Regions from separate parts of the Homo sapiens genome. Here all the other regions are linked to region 1. Evidence: promoter capture Hi-C in 16 types of primary human blood cells and fetal thymus (Javierre and others, 2016). All regions are on one chromosome and are shown on one strand. The core of a region is centred on a gene start or on the middle of the fragment in contact, and the rest is flanking DNA. Distances in the headings are between cores, read along the strand shown. Region 1 holds the start of FLJ46875 (a long non-coding RNA gene). Region 2 overlaps LOC105373712 (a long non-coding RNA gene). Region 3 has its middle 2.9 kb from the start of CYTIP. Region 4 overlaps CYTIP (cytohesin 1 interacting protein). Region 5 overlaps LOC105373714 (a long non-coding RNA gene).

Region 1 (2,700 bases), core at 10-2,509:
TACCTTAATGAGTAGGACAAGTGTCAGGGTGTGTGACAGAATTGCCTGAGTATGGAAGGTAGCAGTGAGAGTCTCCACAAAAATATTAATACTTTCCTATAGAGAAAGCCCCTTTTAAAGTGGGAGCCTTTATTAAAGTCCAGAGTTAAAAAGTAAGCTCTTTAACGTTGAGATTATAGACTTTTAGAAAGTTCATTTATGCCATGTTTCAGGCCTATGCTAAATTCTACGGCAAAAAGACCTGTAAATGCACCGGAGCTGACAGCCTGGGTCCTGGAACCCTTCCTCACGCTGCTACTACGGGGCACCCTTTCTATAATACAACCCCCCGAATGAAAACACTAATGCAAGCCTGGCCCCACAAAAACCTAGATAATGCTTACGTTGAAGACGACAGGTTTTTCGCTTTTGTTTTCGGTTGAGGACTTACTACCCCAAAAACACATCCGACCTGTACTAGAATAGGTGTGTGAGGGAGCGGGAAAAGCTCGGGTCATTTTAACTGGACTAGAAAGGAACACAGCGATCCCCTCACTAAACTTGTCGCCAAGTTCCCTCCTCGCCATCCCAGGGTGCGGGAAAAACCCCCTCCCGCCCCGGGGCCCCGGCAGCACTCGGGGACGCCAGCACGCCGGGCTCCTTCCCACCCGCGAACCGCGCTCCCCGCAGGGCGGGCCGGGGCGGGGAAAAAGGAGCTCGACGCGAAGGGCCGCGGGCGGCCTGGGAAGGGAGGAGGGAGACTTGGGAGGCTGCCGGGCGGTTTTATTGTTTCCTTTCGCCCTCCTCCTACCGCGCCTCCGCCCCAGCGTCACTGGAAAGCCGCCCGAGCCGCCCGGCGGCAGGTTATTTATAGCGCGGGCTGCGCGCGCGTCACGGAGCCCGGCCCGGCTGACGGGGCCGCTGACGCGCTTGGCCGCGGGGCCGAGTCCGCGGGGCTGCGCGCCGGACGCCGGCGACAATGGGCTTCTGTGTGCAGCTGCCGCAGCCGCCGGGGGCCGGGGGCCGGGGGCCGGGGGAGGGGGGCGGGCGACTCCCCGGCTCCCTTCTTGGTCGGCCGCGACCCCCCGAAAGGTAACAGGCCTCTTTCGCCCCCGGCCAGGACCTGGGCCCTGTGGGCTTTTTTTTTTTCCATTTTATCAGTAAGTTCCCCTTGTCCCAGCCTCCGCTTTCACTTCCCGCGTTCCCTCCACCCCAAAAACCGCCCCAACATGTCCAGAGAGGGGCATCTACCCAGCCGCCCAGCCAGGGGCGACCACTTTGTGAGCCCCGGGGAGCGGGACCCGTACCAGGCGCGCCCAGCGGGGGATGCGGTGACCGAGGGGCCGGGAGCGCCGGGCAGGTAACGTATCCTGGACCTAGAGTCGGGGGACTTTGTTTGGGGCGGGAGGAGCGGAACAGGGGTGGGTGTGAACGCCGGACGGCCCTTCCGGGACTCCTGTCCCCCCTCCTTCGCCCCACTCGCCTGCGCGCTGGAAGCCAATCTGGGTGTGTAGCGCGAAGAGCGAAAGAGAAACTTCTGCGTGACTGACTAGATGAGGCTCCTCCCGAGAAGCCGAGATAATAGAGGCCCCCTCTCCCGCCGCCCGCCTTTTTCTCCTCCCCCGGCCGCTCGCTCCTGTCGCCCCACCCCTCGAAGGCTGCGGACCAGCCCCCCACACTTCCCCCTACACCTCTGGCGGGTTCGCGCCGTGGACGCCCCCGCCCTGCGGGAGGAGGGGCTGGCGCGGATTTTAGGGACTTCCTGGGATGCGGAGATCGGCTCTGAACCATCCCCTTTCTGCTGCCCGGAGCTGGGGAAGCTCGCTGTGGAGCGTCTCGCACGTGGCAGGCAGGCAGAGAACTTGCTGCACCTTCTAGGAAATTGCAATCGATTTGTAATGCACTTTCGCTAATTGGGAGTTCAAAATTAAACTTTAATAAAGCATTCGTGTCGTCTCGTCTAATTGTGAAAGCTTCCATCCGTCCTGGTAGATAGACTCTAAGTCTCAAGTTAATGGCGCTAAGCTAGATTTTCCCCCCAAGTACAATTCCGTCAGCCGTCGTCGGCGCAGCTGGATTTCCGTAAGGTACAGATGTTGCTAATGACAGCTTAAGCACGGATGGGCAGATAGCATACGGAATGCAACATGTTGCCATATGGTTCCTTTAGCCTTTCACCTCCAGGGATATCAATCACATATATTCTGGGAGGAACTTAATGACTCTCTGAACAGCAAAATGAATTACCTGGTACAATTTATATCCCTTGACCTGATACGTTATAACAACAGGAAGATAGCATCTCGCAATTTCTGTGGTATAAATTGAACTACAGAGCTACATTTAAAATTCTACATCTATTTGTAGTTTAAGGGGCCCTGTCATATTCTGGCTGTAAAATCTGTTTCTGTATTGCCCATCTCCTTCCCCCTCCTACCTCTGGAGGAAGCAAAATTTATAAAGTTTAGCAAAACTGGTGTCGGAAATTGCCAGTCAACTGATTAATAGATGAAGTATGGAGAAATGGAAAATATGACTTCCAGAGCTACTTACTTCAACAAGAATTAGCCATCTTTAGGAACACCATACTTTTAAGCGTACAAAATTAAAGAACTCCAGAAAATGTATTTTCTGCTAGTTGTTTCAGTATAGCTCCTAAATCTATTCATTAACTATTTGAAATTCTCCATTTATTTTCAAACTTCAACCATTCCTACACTT
Region 2 (2,700 bases), core at 66-2,565, 1.1 Mb before region 1:
AAGCCACTGTCTTATCAATTTTCCTAAAATCCCCATTTAGTAACGTATGCCTTTACTCAGAAAGATTGGCGATTCCTTTTTGATAACTGAATCAAGTTCAGTGTATTCATTACACCAATGAGGTGCTCGGTAGTTCTGTCTTACGCAGCTGCCCACATTCCTGCCATACCAGCTTTGTCGCCAATCTCTGATAGCTCTCCCAGTTTTCTCCTCTTGATGACTCTCCTTCTCATTCACATGTGAAATGCTGGTTCTTCCCTGGTACCATTTCTGACTTGAAATTGTGCTGATTCTCTAAATTTGTCTTTCACCTTCAAAGGCAACCTCGGCTCCCTTCTGAAGAGGAGATGAATTTCTCTGTTGTGTCCTTTGAATGGCTTTGTGCTGTTTTCTGTCTTGTACTCTGTAGAGGTGGGCATGTTGAGTTATTTTGCTAGACTCAAGGCTCGTGCAGGGCAGAAGCTAGGCTTTGCTCACTTCAGCATCACGTTCTCCCACACTTAGAGCCAGACATGTTGTAGGCCTTTGCTAAATGCTGTTGATTTGAACAGAATATTCGCAGATTCTCTCCAGGAAATGGTTGAGTTTAATCTAGACCATCAACTCAAGTTTTTGTGTCTATAAAATGTGTAAAGCAAATATGATAAGAAAGTAGGTATGATTAATTTGATGTCAAGTTACTCTGATCATATTTCCTAAATCAAGACATCAAAACGTGATTTCATAAAGGATGTTTAAAACCTATAATTGACAAAGGACAATAGGACAGTTTCCTCCAAATTGGATATATTAAATTTGATTCCTTTTATATGTTAGCACATAACAACTAATGACTCTTATAGCTGCAAAAATATATAGTAGTGCCAATGGTTGTTTACTCAATATGCTGTCATGGGAAGACTTTAAATATTTTGGTATATGTATCTTTTTAGTTTTTTAAAGAAAGCATACTTACATTTGCCTTTATAAAAACTTGTATAAATGTAAGGGGTACAAGTGCAGTTTTGTTACATGGTATATATATCTTATGCCTTTATTTTCCTCATCTCTTTTTAGAAGTGAGCTCTATCACATGGTACGTTTATGAGAAGAGGAACCAGCAATGTTTCCTTCCATCTTCAACTATACTAACAAGATCCATCTGATGTGTAAGCTAGTCTGGGAATTAGGGGCACAGAAAATTGCATATTAAAGTCATACAACGTTGTTTTTTAAGAAAAGCTCTTTCTGTGATTTGTTGCTCCAAATCTTTCTTCTCTTGTATTAAAAACTATAATGTTGAGAAATGATTCTCTTTGCACCTGGTAACAATATTTTAGTAAGCCTCTTTTCAGTTTTGAATAGTTTGTCATTTTTCCATGAGTACCTTCAGGTCATACATATACTTGGCTTTTAAATTTTTTTTTGGAATGCTATTGTAATGGGCCTGCTGTTCAGTCCCACCACACACTTAGCTACTTCTTTTGGGTGCTTGGGTGCAGATTTTCCTTTGAAGCCAGTCGGAGCTACATGCACAGATGAAACGTGTGGCAGGAAGGGGACATTTCCCACCTTCTCCTCTCTTGGGCCCTTTCATCTCTGTGTGGTGATGTTTTCCACTCCTCCGTAGATAAGAATCTTTTTGTAAATTTCCCATATTTAACACCAAGACTAAATGCTGTTAAGCAACATCAGTCATTCTCACCACATCCACTGAGATTAAAAGTGAGTCAGACAATTAGGTTACTCTGGCAGGAACTGTGGCCCCACAAACTGATTTTTGATAGTGTCTTCCAGCATGTTCTCTACTGCAAATGCTAGGATTCAGGCTAGGGCAATTTCCATTTTGCCTCCCCCTTTAAAAAAAAAGAGAGAGAGAATGAGATATATATTTTAATCTATTCTGGATACTTTCTCTGCTTTTTTAGGGCCAGATGGATGCTCAATGATACCGCTCAGTTCTTACGTGTGGTCACTGGATTTCATCTAACCCTCTTCCCCAGAGGTCTTGCTTAACACTGAAAAACTAAAAACTTAAGAAGAAGACTATCTTCCCCTCCGCCCGCCCCACAAAATGGAATCTTGCTCTGTCACCCAGGCTGGAGTGCAGTGGTGCGATCTTGGCTCACTGCAGCCTCCGCCTCCCGGGTTGAAGCAATTCTTCTGCCTCAGCCTCCCAAGTAGCTGGGATTACAGGCATGCACCACCACGCCCAGCTAAATTTTGTATTTTTAGTAGAGACAGGGTTTTGCCATGTTGGCCAGGCTGGTCTTGACCTCGTGATCGGCCTGCCCCGGCCTCCCAAAGTGCTGGGATTACAGGCATGAGCCACCGTGTCTGGCCCAGAAGAAGACTATCTACAAATTCCCTTGACAATCCATAGCAATAATGAATGGTCTTTCCTTTCAGGAAAGTGCCACCTTAAGTGATTGCTTGAAGAGAAATAACCAGTTGGTTCTTCTCTGAGGGTCTGAAGAGTGCCAGGTCTGCCATGTCCTGCACTCCTTTAGATCATCAGAAGACTTCACAGGCCAGTCCTCGTGCTGACCTGACCATTCCAGACCCTGTAACTGAGGTCTTAGCTTCTTCTTGGTTTCTTTCTCAGAATTATCTTCCAGATCTCTACAACCTAGGAAAGGCTAAAACTGAGGCTTTCTTTACCCTAAAATTATTTCCCACATTTAAGTTTCTCCTACACGAAGTAAACTCAGTGGAGGAAGC
Region 3 (2,700 bases), core at 147-2,646, 1.1 Mb before region 1:
TTTCTGAAGAAGGCTATTACTCTCTGGGGAGTAGTGTTCATAATTCCAGTGATCCACACTGAGTTGGATGAGGACATCTGTCTACCCAGCTCCATCACTCAAATAAGGTGATACATAGGACAGAGCAGTTTTCACAGTTAGTGGATCCTCATATATGAGAGTAACTTTACTAAATCAAATTTACCTTATATAAATTCAAAGGCACAATATTCAAATATTGTCTATATGACTTTAACACATCTCCTACATCATTCCAGAGACCCAAATAAAAACTTCCCTTCCAAATGAAGGCAAAAGGCCAAAATAAAACAAATTAGCAAACCAAACCACAACAAAACAAAATCCTGTGATGTTCCAGGAAGCCAGATAAAATCTTCTTGTGCAAATAAAGGCAAATAGCAAAAATAAAACAAACAAAAAACTCAACAGCTATCTTAAGATCAGAAAGGCATAGAGGAAGTCTCATTTTTTAAGCAACCAGTTACTCTTCTTCTGTGTCTTACAATAATCCAGAAATTTCACACATTGGCTCTGATGATGGTTTTCAAACACATCTTGATATTCGATGGTAAGGAATTCACATGTATTGTGTAGCCTTTAGACTTCTTCAGGGTGACAAGGGCATCCTTGCTGCACATAGAGGCACTTAGTAATGAATAGGGCTATTCATATAGAATTCATGTTATATCCTTTTTTAGCTTTTCCTTTTGAAGGCTTGTTACTTAAAGCAAAATTCAGTAGATATAGCTTACTTTATACCATGTGCTATTCATGGGCTATTCTGTCTATTTTTTCCTGCAAATTTTTGTTTTAGATATGTGAACACTAAAGTTTAGAGAGTGTATTAGTCAGTTCAAGCCACCATAACCAATACCATAGCATAACAAATACCATAGACTGGGTGGCTTTAAACAATAGAAATTTATTTTCTCACAGTTTTAGATGCTGGGAAGTCCAAGATTGAGGTGCTGGCAGATTCAGTTCCTGGTGAGGGATCTCTTCCTGGCTTGCAGGAGGCTGCCTTCTTGCTGTGTCCTCATATGGTGGAGAGAGAGTCCTCTGCCACCTCTTCCTATGAGGGCACTAATCTTATCAGATCTGAGCCTTACCCTTATGACTTCGTTTAACCTTAAATGATTCATTAACCTCCTTATAGGCCCTATCTCTAAATACAGACACATTGAAGCTCAGGGCTTTAATGTATGAATTTTGGGGGGATACAACTCAGTCCATAGTCTTTAAAGCAGCAGAGCTAGGACTTGAATCTAAGTAGTGTGACACTGGAACCCTGTTGTCAACCCTCTTACAGCTGCCTAAGATTTTCATGGATGATTGTAAGGTTGGCTCAGTTTGTCTTGCAAACCTTTCCACCTTTCTTTCTCTGTTCCGTGCTTTAGGTATATTCCTCTCACCTGACTCTACCAAATCTCCATGTTGTAGGCCCTCAGTGTTCATCTCATTTGTACTAAAGATTAATTCCTTCCAAGGGTATTTGCATATTTATGAACAAAATGTTCCAAATAAGAGCTTTGCCCCACATAACAAATATTAGCTTTTAGAGCATAAAGGCAGATGAGACGTATTTTTAAGAGACTCTGTCCTCATCTCTCAGATCACCCCTTAGTGAAAATTGTAGCACTTTGGAATATGGGCTTGTAGTACATACATTTCCTACCAAATTAATTTTTTTCCTTATTAATACCACAGAACACTATTGTTTAATCATTTTGTTTAATATCTACCTTTCTCTTTTTATTAACATTTATTGAACAATTTTTGTATGTAGGACATAAAGTATACATTTAAAGATAAAAGATGTTCCTTGCTTTCAAGGAAATTGGACATTAGCAGAGAAACAGATTTGTATACAATTAACTATTGCCCTAACTAGAATATATTAAGTCTCAAAAGAAGAATCTAAAAAAATGATATGACATTTCAGAGAATGAAATCAGATAATATAAAATAATTTTTATTTTATTTTATTTTTTTGTGAACAGTGAGATACTCCTGAAATCTTTTGAGTACCTAGGTAGCTTGATCCAATTCATTTCCAGAATCACCTCTCTAAAATAAATGGGAGGCTGAAGGGGAAGAGAGTCTGGTCTATTATAATTTTCCTAAGGTAAATCCTAAAAGAAAAGAGATGTTCTAAACAGTAGAACACCTTTGTAAGTCAAGGATTTGTTGTTTGGAAGTCACATTCCCCTTAAAAGATTACTGTTTCTCCACCCTTTATCACAAGGGACACTTTTGATCATGATATTAGTGACTGGCATGACACAGGCACTGACAGAACAGGGAAATGACCAATAAAAATAGACTAGGTCAAAAATTTGTAATTAACAGGTGTGACCACATTGATATGGGCTGGCTGGATGTCAGAGGTACTTTTGACCCTTGTTTTGTATCCAGGTATCCCATTATTTGAAAAATTTTACTTAACACATTTCATGAGTTAAGTAATAAGTATTTTCCAGTTTCTTAATTGAATGATGATCTATGATTTACATCAGCTTAAGGTCAGTATTACAATGAATTGGTACAATTTTAGTAGTCATTTATAAAAATGGGTGAGTCAGTTGGCCTGAGTGGGTGGCCTTATATTAAGCAAATGTATAATTTCCATTTGGCATTTTAAAATATTAAGAATAAAAATTAAAAATATTTACCTAACTTTATCAGATTCCTAGGGTACAG
Region 4 (2,700 bases), core at 35-2,534, 1.1 Mb before region 1:
GTTAGACTTAGTCCTCTGTACCTTATGTTTTTTGTTCTTATTATCGTTTCTTTACAAAAACTAATGCTTTGATTGACGTTAATAGACATGTGAAATAAATTTTTCTGTGCTGTGACTATATTCAAACACTTTGCTAAATTATAGAATAGTAATATCTATTCTAATAACTCTAATGAATTATCTGTAGATTATTTTGGATTTACTGTAGAGATAATAACTATCTGTTATGAATGAGTTTTGGTTCTTTTTCTTACTTTGCTTCACAGCTTAGGCGCTACCATACAACAATGAATAGAAATTATGGTTGTAGGCATCCTTGTTTTATTCTTGATTTTAAAGGAAATTCTTCCTAATTTCTTTTCCACTAGGAATGAGCTATCTTTCAGATTAAGGAGACTCCCTTCTATACGAAGTTTGCTGGTAGTGTTTATAGTGCTTGTCCATTAAACTTTATCAAATACTTTTTTTATGCATCTGTTAAGCTGGTCTTCTCATTTATTCATTTGAAAAAATTCTGTCAATATGTGAATGAAATTTAAATATATTCTAATATAAAGCTACCATTTCATTTCTATGATAAACCCAAGCTGGCTTATTCTTGAAATTTATAATTTGTAAATGTAATTACAGGTTCGATTTGCTAATATTGTATTTAGGATTTTGAAAGAGTTTCATTTTTCAGGTAGACTGGCCTGTAATTTTATTTTCTTAGATTATCTTTTTAAGTTTTGGTATCAAGTTTACTAGACTCTTAGCATGACCTGGGGACTGTTTTCCTCTTCTTATTTTCTGGCAGAATTTTAATAATACCATCTGAATCATTTTGTTTTAGGATTCTTTTTTGATGGGAATACTGTTAATGTACTGTTTCAATTACTTTATTAGTTGTGAGACTACTCAGGATTTCTGGTTTTTTTTAAAGACAGTTTTAGCGACTTATGTTTTTGTTAACAAAGTTTTTAAATTTATTAACTGAGTTGACAGTAAAATATTATTCTGATGTTTTAAATTTTTGTCAAAAATTGAGTGTGCCCCCATTTTTTTCTTGCAGTTTGTACCACTTTTTATGCTTCTTTTTTTTTCTTGATAACTCTTTCTCTACGGGATTTTCTATTTTTGGATCTTCTAGAAAACCAGTATTTGTGGCCATCTTTAATCCTTTTTCTGGTTGCTTTAAGATATTCTTTTGTCCTTATTGATCTACGGTTTTACTACAATGCAATTAGTTCTGGATTCATTTCTAAATTTATACCGTGTAGATCTTATAGTGCTCTTTCTGTTTAAAGACTTTCTTTAGCTTTGGAAAACTATCAACTCAATCTTTTTGGAATATACCTTCTACACCACTCTTGTATTATCTTCTGGAATTCATGTTAGGCATAGTTTCTTGATTTATCTTTCATGCTTCCTAATGACTATTTCATAGGTCTTTATTTATATTTTTGTGTTATATTCTTTCTGAATTCTTTAGTAACATCTCCAGAAATGTTCTTGCTAGCTGTTCTGTACAGAATGTGTTATTTCTATTGAGTTATAAAAATTACTTTCTTATTATCTTGTAGTTCTTTTTCATGTCTATCTGTTCTTGTTTTGTCATTTCAAATTTCTTGTTCTTATAAACATTGATCTCTCAGAGGATTATATCTCTCAGAGGATTATAAAAATTCTTATTTTAAAGTCTTTTTTGGACACTTTTCTTTTTTTTTTTTTTTTTGAGACAGAGTTTCGCCCTTGTCACCCAGGCTGGAGTGCAGTGGCATGATCTCGGCTCACTGCAACCTCCACCTCCCGGGTTCAAGGGATTCTCCTGCCTCAGCCTCCTGAGTAGCTGGGATTACAGGCACCTGCCACCACGCCTGGCTAACTTTTTGTATTTTTAGTAGAGACAGGATTTTCACCATGTTGGGCAGGCTGGTCGCGAACTCCTGCCCTCAGGTGATCCGCTCGCTTAGGCCTCCCAAAGTGCTGGGATTACAGGTGTGAGTCACCGCACCTGGCCTTGAACACTTTTCTATTTTCATTTTGTTTAGAGACAATCTATGCACAAATTATCAATTTTATTATCTTTTTTATCATTAAACATCTGTGTTTGGAGGTTTAGATTGCCTACTTCTCTTGCATGGCATATAGCCTCTCCCTTCAGCACAATGTGATAACTGGATGCTTGCCCCCACTTGGCACTTCAAGGCTATCAATCCAGAGCCAGGTCTGGGGGCTTCCGTGCCTTTCCTGAAGACTCAGTGAGCTGTTTGGCTCAGGTCACGAGGCTGTGTTTAGGTATTCCTGCCTTTCAACATACAAGCTCTACATGAGCCATAGCCAGCAGCATCAGCTTTTCTCAGCCTCCTTTCCCAGTGATGGAGCTTCAGCCAATGTTTTTTTCTTAAGCGGAAAACCTGTCTCAGACCTGTGTTTCAGATAGGTGTATTTAAACCATATATTGCCATAGAATTTATTTCTGCTTCTCCATATCCAGAAGACTTTAAGTTTCATTCTGTTTTCTATCTTGCATGTCTGTCCTGTTTCTAATCTTGAAATTATGAGATTCCGTTTAACTCTTGAGCCAAAAATGTCTTGGTCTGACCCATAGCCAAGGTCAGGCTGGTTTCCCCTCCACACAGTGACATTTATTTTGTGCATCCTGTGTAAGTCAGCATTCTTTCCCTCAAAGACTCTTCATTGCACCAGGGGCTCTTCTTT
Region 5 (2,700 bases), core at 187-2,686, 1.6 Mb before region 1:
GTGGCAGCTGCAAGTTGGTGTGTGACACATTGAGTAGTCATATTTCTCTTCTCTGTGGCCCTCCAAAGCCCTTTCCAACATAACTTTTCCCCATCTGTTCTCGTTTGCACTGCATAATAGGGGACAGGTTTTGGAACTTGGGATTCAAAAAAACATTAAGAGAAAATAAAAATGAGATGGAATTTGAGTAGAAAGAAACTCGCTGGCTTTCCCCCCCACAGCCCCCTTCCTTAGTTGCTGGGATCATGACCAGAGTATTAAATTGATCAAGTTTTTACTCTCGTCTAGTTGGTTCTCTTTATGGGGTAGCGGGGAAACGTGAGAACAGTAAAACATCTCTTTAAACTGTCTGCAATAAAATAAGCACAGGGCTGAGTCATTAGTAGGAACAATGTTGCCCAATACCTGACAAAGTTTTTCCACATTTGCTTAGAATCTCTAATAAGTTACATTAATTGTCTCCTGCCTCAGGTTCCTTCTCTGTGAAAGGGATGCCTGAAGTGAATTTTAGGAATATTTAGAGACAGTGTTTTCCTGAGTGCCATAAGCCCATCTCTGTTGTATGCACTAAATAATTTTGGAAATGATACAAACATTTTTAAATTTTAATAGTAATAAATTTCTTCTAATATACATTAGGAAGAAAACTGGCAATAGCAAAATATAACCCTGATTTCACAATTATTTTTGCTTAAGAAGAGGCTAAACTGGGCATGTAAGTTTAAAAAGTGAACAAATTTAAAGAGGAATATTCAGTAAATAATAAAAGTGAATATGGCAAAACAGAGAGTACAAGAATGGGTGCTTAAAAAGCAACTATATCAAGGCAGTGGTTCTTTTATTCTTTATGTTTTGTGGAAAGCTTTATTTTATGGTGTGGGCCTCTCGTTCTAGGGTTGGATTAATCATAATCCTTGGGTCATGGCATATGCTATCATTGGTCTAGCAGGGGCTCAGAATCCTTAATGGATAGCACCCCTCTTTGAGAATCTGATGAAAGTTATGGGTTTCCCTGGAAAAATGTATATTCCCATATACAGACAAACTTACATAGAATTTCTAGGTTTTCAGGAACATTTGGAGTGCATCTGTGGGCTTCTGGAAGTTTCAGGTGCATTCAAGGTTGTGTCCACTTGCTTCTCTGCTTTCTTAAGCTCACAGGCCAGCCAGCAGCTGAGGCTTTAAGCCACACCTACTACATTTCTGCAAGGAACAGCATCTTCCCTCACTGCAGGCACCACCCAGCCTGCTGCCTGGGATCATGTAGATATTACGGAAAATATCCACCCCCCACCCACCTCCCCACTTTCGCCTTTTCAAAAACAGAGATGCTACAAAAATGTCAGTAGCCGGGACCAGTTGCTGTTTGCCCAGTTCACCTCATTATCCACTGAGATCTGCTCCTCCTCCCTTCAACGGCTTGCACCTGTGAGCACTGCTATTTCTTTCTCACTTGTCCAGAGACAGGCACCTGCCCCAAGCCAGACCAATCAGCATCTTTCCACTTCCCACATCAGAACTTGGAAAGAGAGGTACATGACATGAAACTCAGTGGGGGTGCTTGTTTGTTAATTCTGCAGAGAAGAGCACTAGGTGCAGACATGGGGTTCTATACATGCTTCTGATGATACTGATTCCTTCAGCATATGTCTTTGGAGCTGAAAAATTTTAAGTAATCACTTCCATAACTCCCACCACGATACTGCACACTGTTCTTCAAGTACTCAGTTATTTATGAGAAGGTTGGTGATAATATTAATCAGAAAGATCATGGTAATGCCTGGCATCTACTGGACCCAGGCACTGTGCCACCTCCACTGCATGCTATATGCATGCCTTCTCGCTCATGAGGCAGGTAATATTATCTACTCCACTTTACAGAAAAGGACTCTGAGGTTATGGTGTCAGAAAGTGCTAGAACCGGATGGGCATGGTGGCACGTGCCTGTAGTCCCAGCTACTCACAAGGCTGAGGTGGGTGGACTGGTTGAGCCTAGGAATTCAAGCTTTGCCTGGGAAACACAGTGAGACTCCATCTCTAAATAATAATAATAATATATACATAAATATATAAAGAAAGGTGCTAGAACTAGTATACAGACCAGGACTGCCTCGCTCCAGACCCTACAACCTTTTCTTCTTCTCAACTTTTGAATAGGTAATTTGTTCACATAGTCTTTTTTTTCTGTTCAAAATAGTGAAACATCTTGCCCTGTCCTTTCCTTCCTTCTCGTTGTTCAAAGCCCCATCCATTTCTGAGGATTTGTGTCCAATTATACTACCCAACATAGACGTATATCTCTTTTTTTATTTAAATGATAGCATATGGTAGCATACGATCTATTTTGCTGAACCTTGCAGGATTCTTTTTCCTACTTACTGCTAATTGAGGAGCTCAGTTCATATCGATACATTGAAAACAACTTTATTATTATTATTATTTTTAAAAAGCAGCTTCATAGTGTTCCATTGTAAGAATGTTTCATAATTTACTGACTCAATATCCTATTGATAGGCAGGTTGTTTTCAATCTTTTGCTTTTATATATAGTGCTGCAAAGAAAACCTCCCACATCTGTCATTTCAGAATTGGGTGAGTATATGTGTAGGAAATATTCCTAGAATGAAATTCCAAGGTCAAAGTGTATGTGAATTTATAATTTTGCAAGAGAATATAAAATTGCCTTCCACGGACCTTGTAT

What was found. The method cuts DNA at HindIII sites, captures the fragments that hold promoters and counts their contacts. A CHiCAGO score of 5 or more calls a contact.
Region 2: a contact is called between a fragment that was not itself captured here and the fragment with the promoter of FLJ46875 in region 1, in 3 of 17 cell types (activated CD4 T cells, M0 macrophages and non-activated CD4 T cells). The highest score is 6.1, in activated CD4 T cells.
Region 3: a contact is called between a fragment that was not itself captured here and the fragment with the promoter of FLJ46875 in region 1, in 1 of 17 cell types (naive CD8 T cells). The highest score is 5.1, in naive CD8 T cells.
Region 4: a fragment that was not itself captured here is called in contact with the fragment with the promoter of FLJ46875 in region 1 in 2 of 17 cell types (monocytes and M2 macrophages); the score reaches 8.6 in monocytes.
Region 5: a contact is called between a fragment that was not itself captured here and the fragment with the promoter of FLJ46875 in region 1, in 2 of 17 cell types (non-activated CD4 T cells and activated CD4 T cells). The highest score is 9.8, in non-activated CD4 T cells.

Annotation. Positions count from the first base shown.
Region 1 is chr2:156,340,679-156,343,378 of GRCh38, reverse strand. It overlaps FLJ46875 (a long non-coding RNA gene), which reads left to right and starts at 1,259. Exons shown (of 1, transcript NR_147695.1): 1 at 1,259-2,700. RefSeq lists enhancers at 1-37, 1,245-1,798, 1,799-2,354 and silencers at 448-1,057, 1,598-1,697. The HindIII fragment of the contact is 3,407 bases long and covers 1-1,954 here.
Region 2 is chr2:157,463,384-157,466,083 of GRCh38, reverse strand. LOC105373712 (a long non-coding RNA gene) reads left to right here. Exons shown (of 4, transcript XR_923513.3): 4 at 1,057-1,538. Among named protein-coding and RNA genes, the nearest start is that of CYTIP, 21 kb to the right of the region's middle. RefSeq lists an enhancer at 1,114-2,313. The HindIII fragment of the contact is 2,773 bases long and covers 1-2,700 here.
Region 3 is chr2:157,445,608-157,448,307 of GRCh38, reverse strand. No RefSeq gene overlaps it. Among named protein-coding and RNA genes, the nearest start is that of CYTIP, 2.9 kb to the right of the region's middle. The HindIII fragment of the contact is 5,425 bases long and covers 1-2,700 here.
Region 4 is chr2:157,421,685-157,424,384 of GRCh38, reverse strand. All of the region lies in intron 6 of CYTIP (cytohesin 1 interacting protein), which reads left to right. Among named protein-coding and RNA genes, the nearest start is that of CYTIP, 21 kb to the left of the region's middle. The HindIII fragment of the contact is 3,981 bases long and covers 1-2,700 here.
Region 5 is chr2:157,892,566-157,895,265 of GRCh38, reverse strand. The region is part of intron 1 of LOC105373714 (a long non-coding RNA gene); the gene reads right to left. Among named protein-coding and RNA genes, the nearest start is that of ACVR1, 18 kb to the right of the region's middle. The HindIII fragment of the contact is 1,143 bases long and covers 865-2,007 here.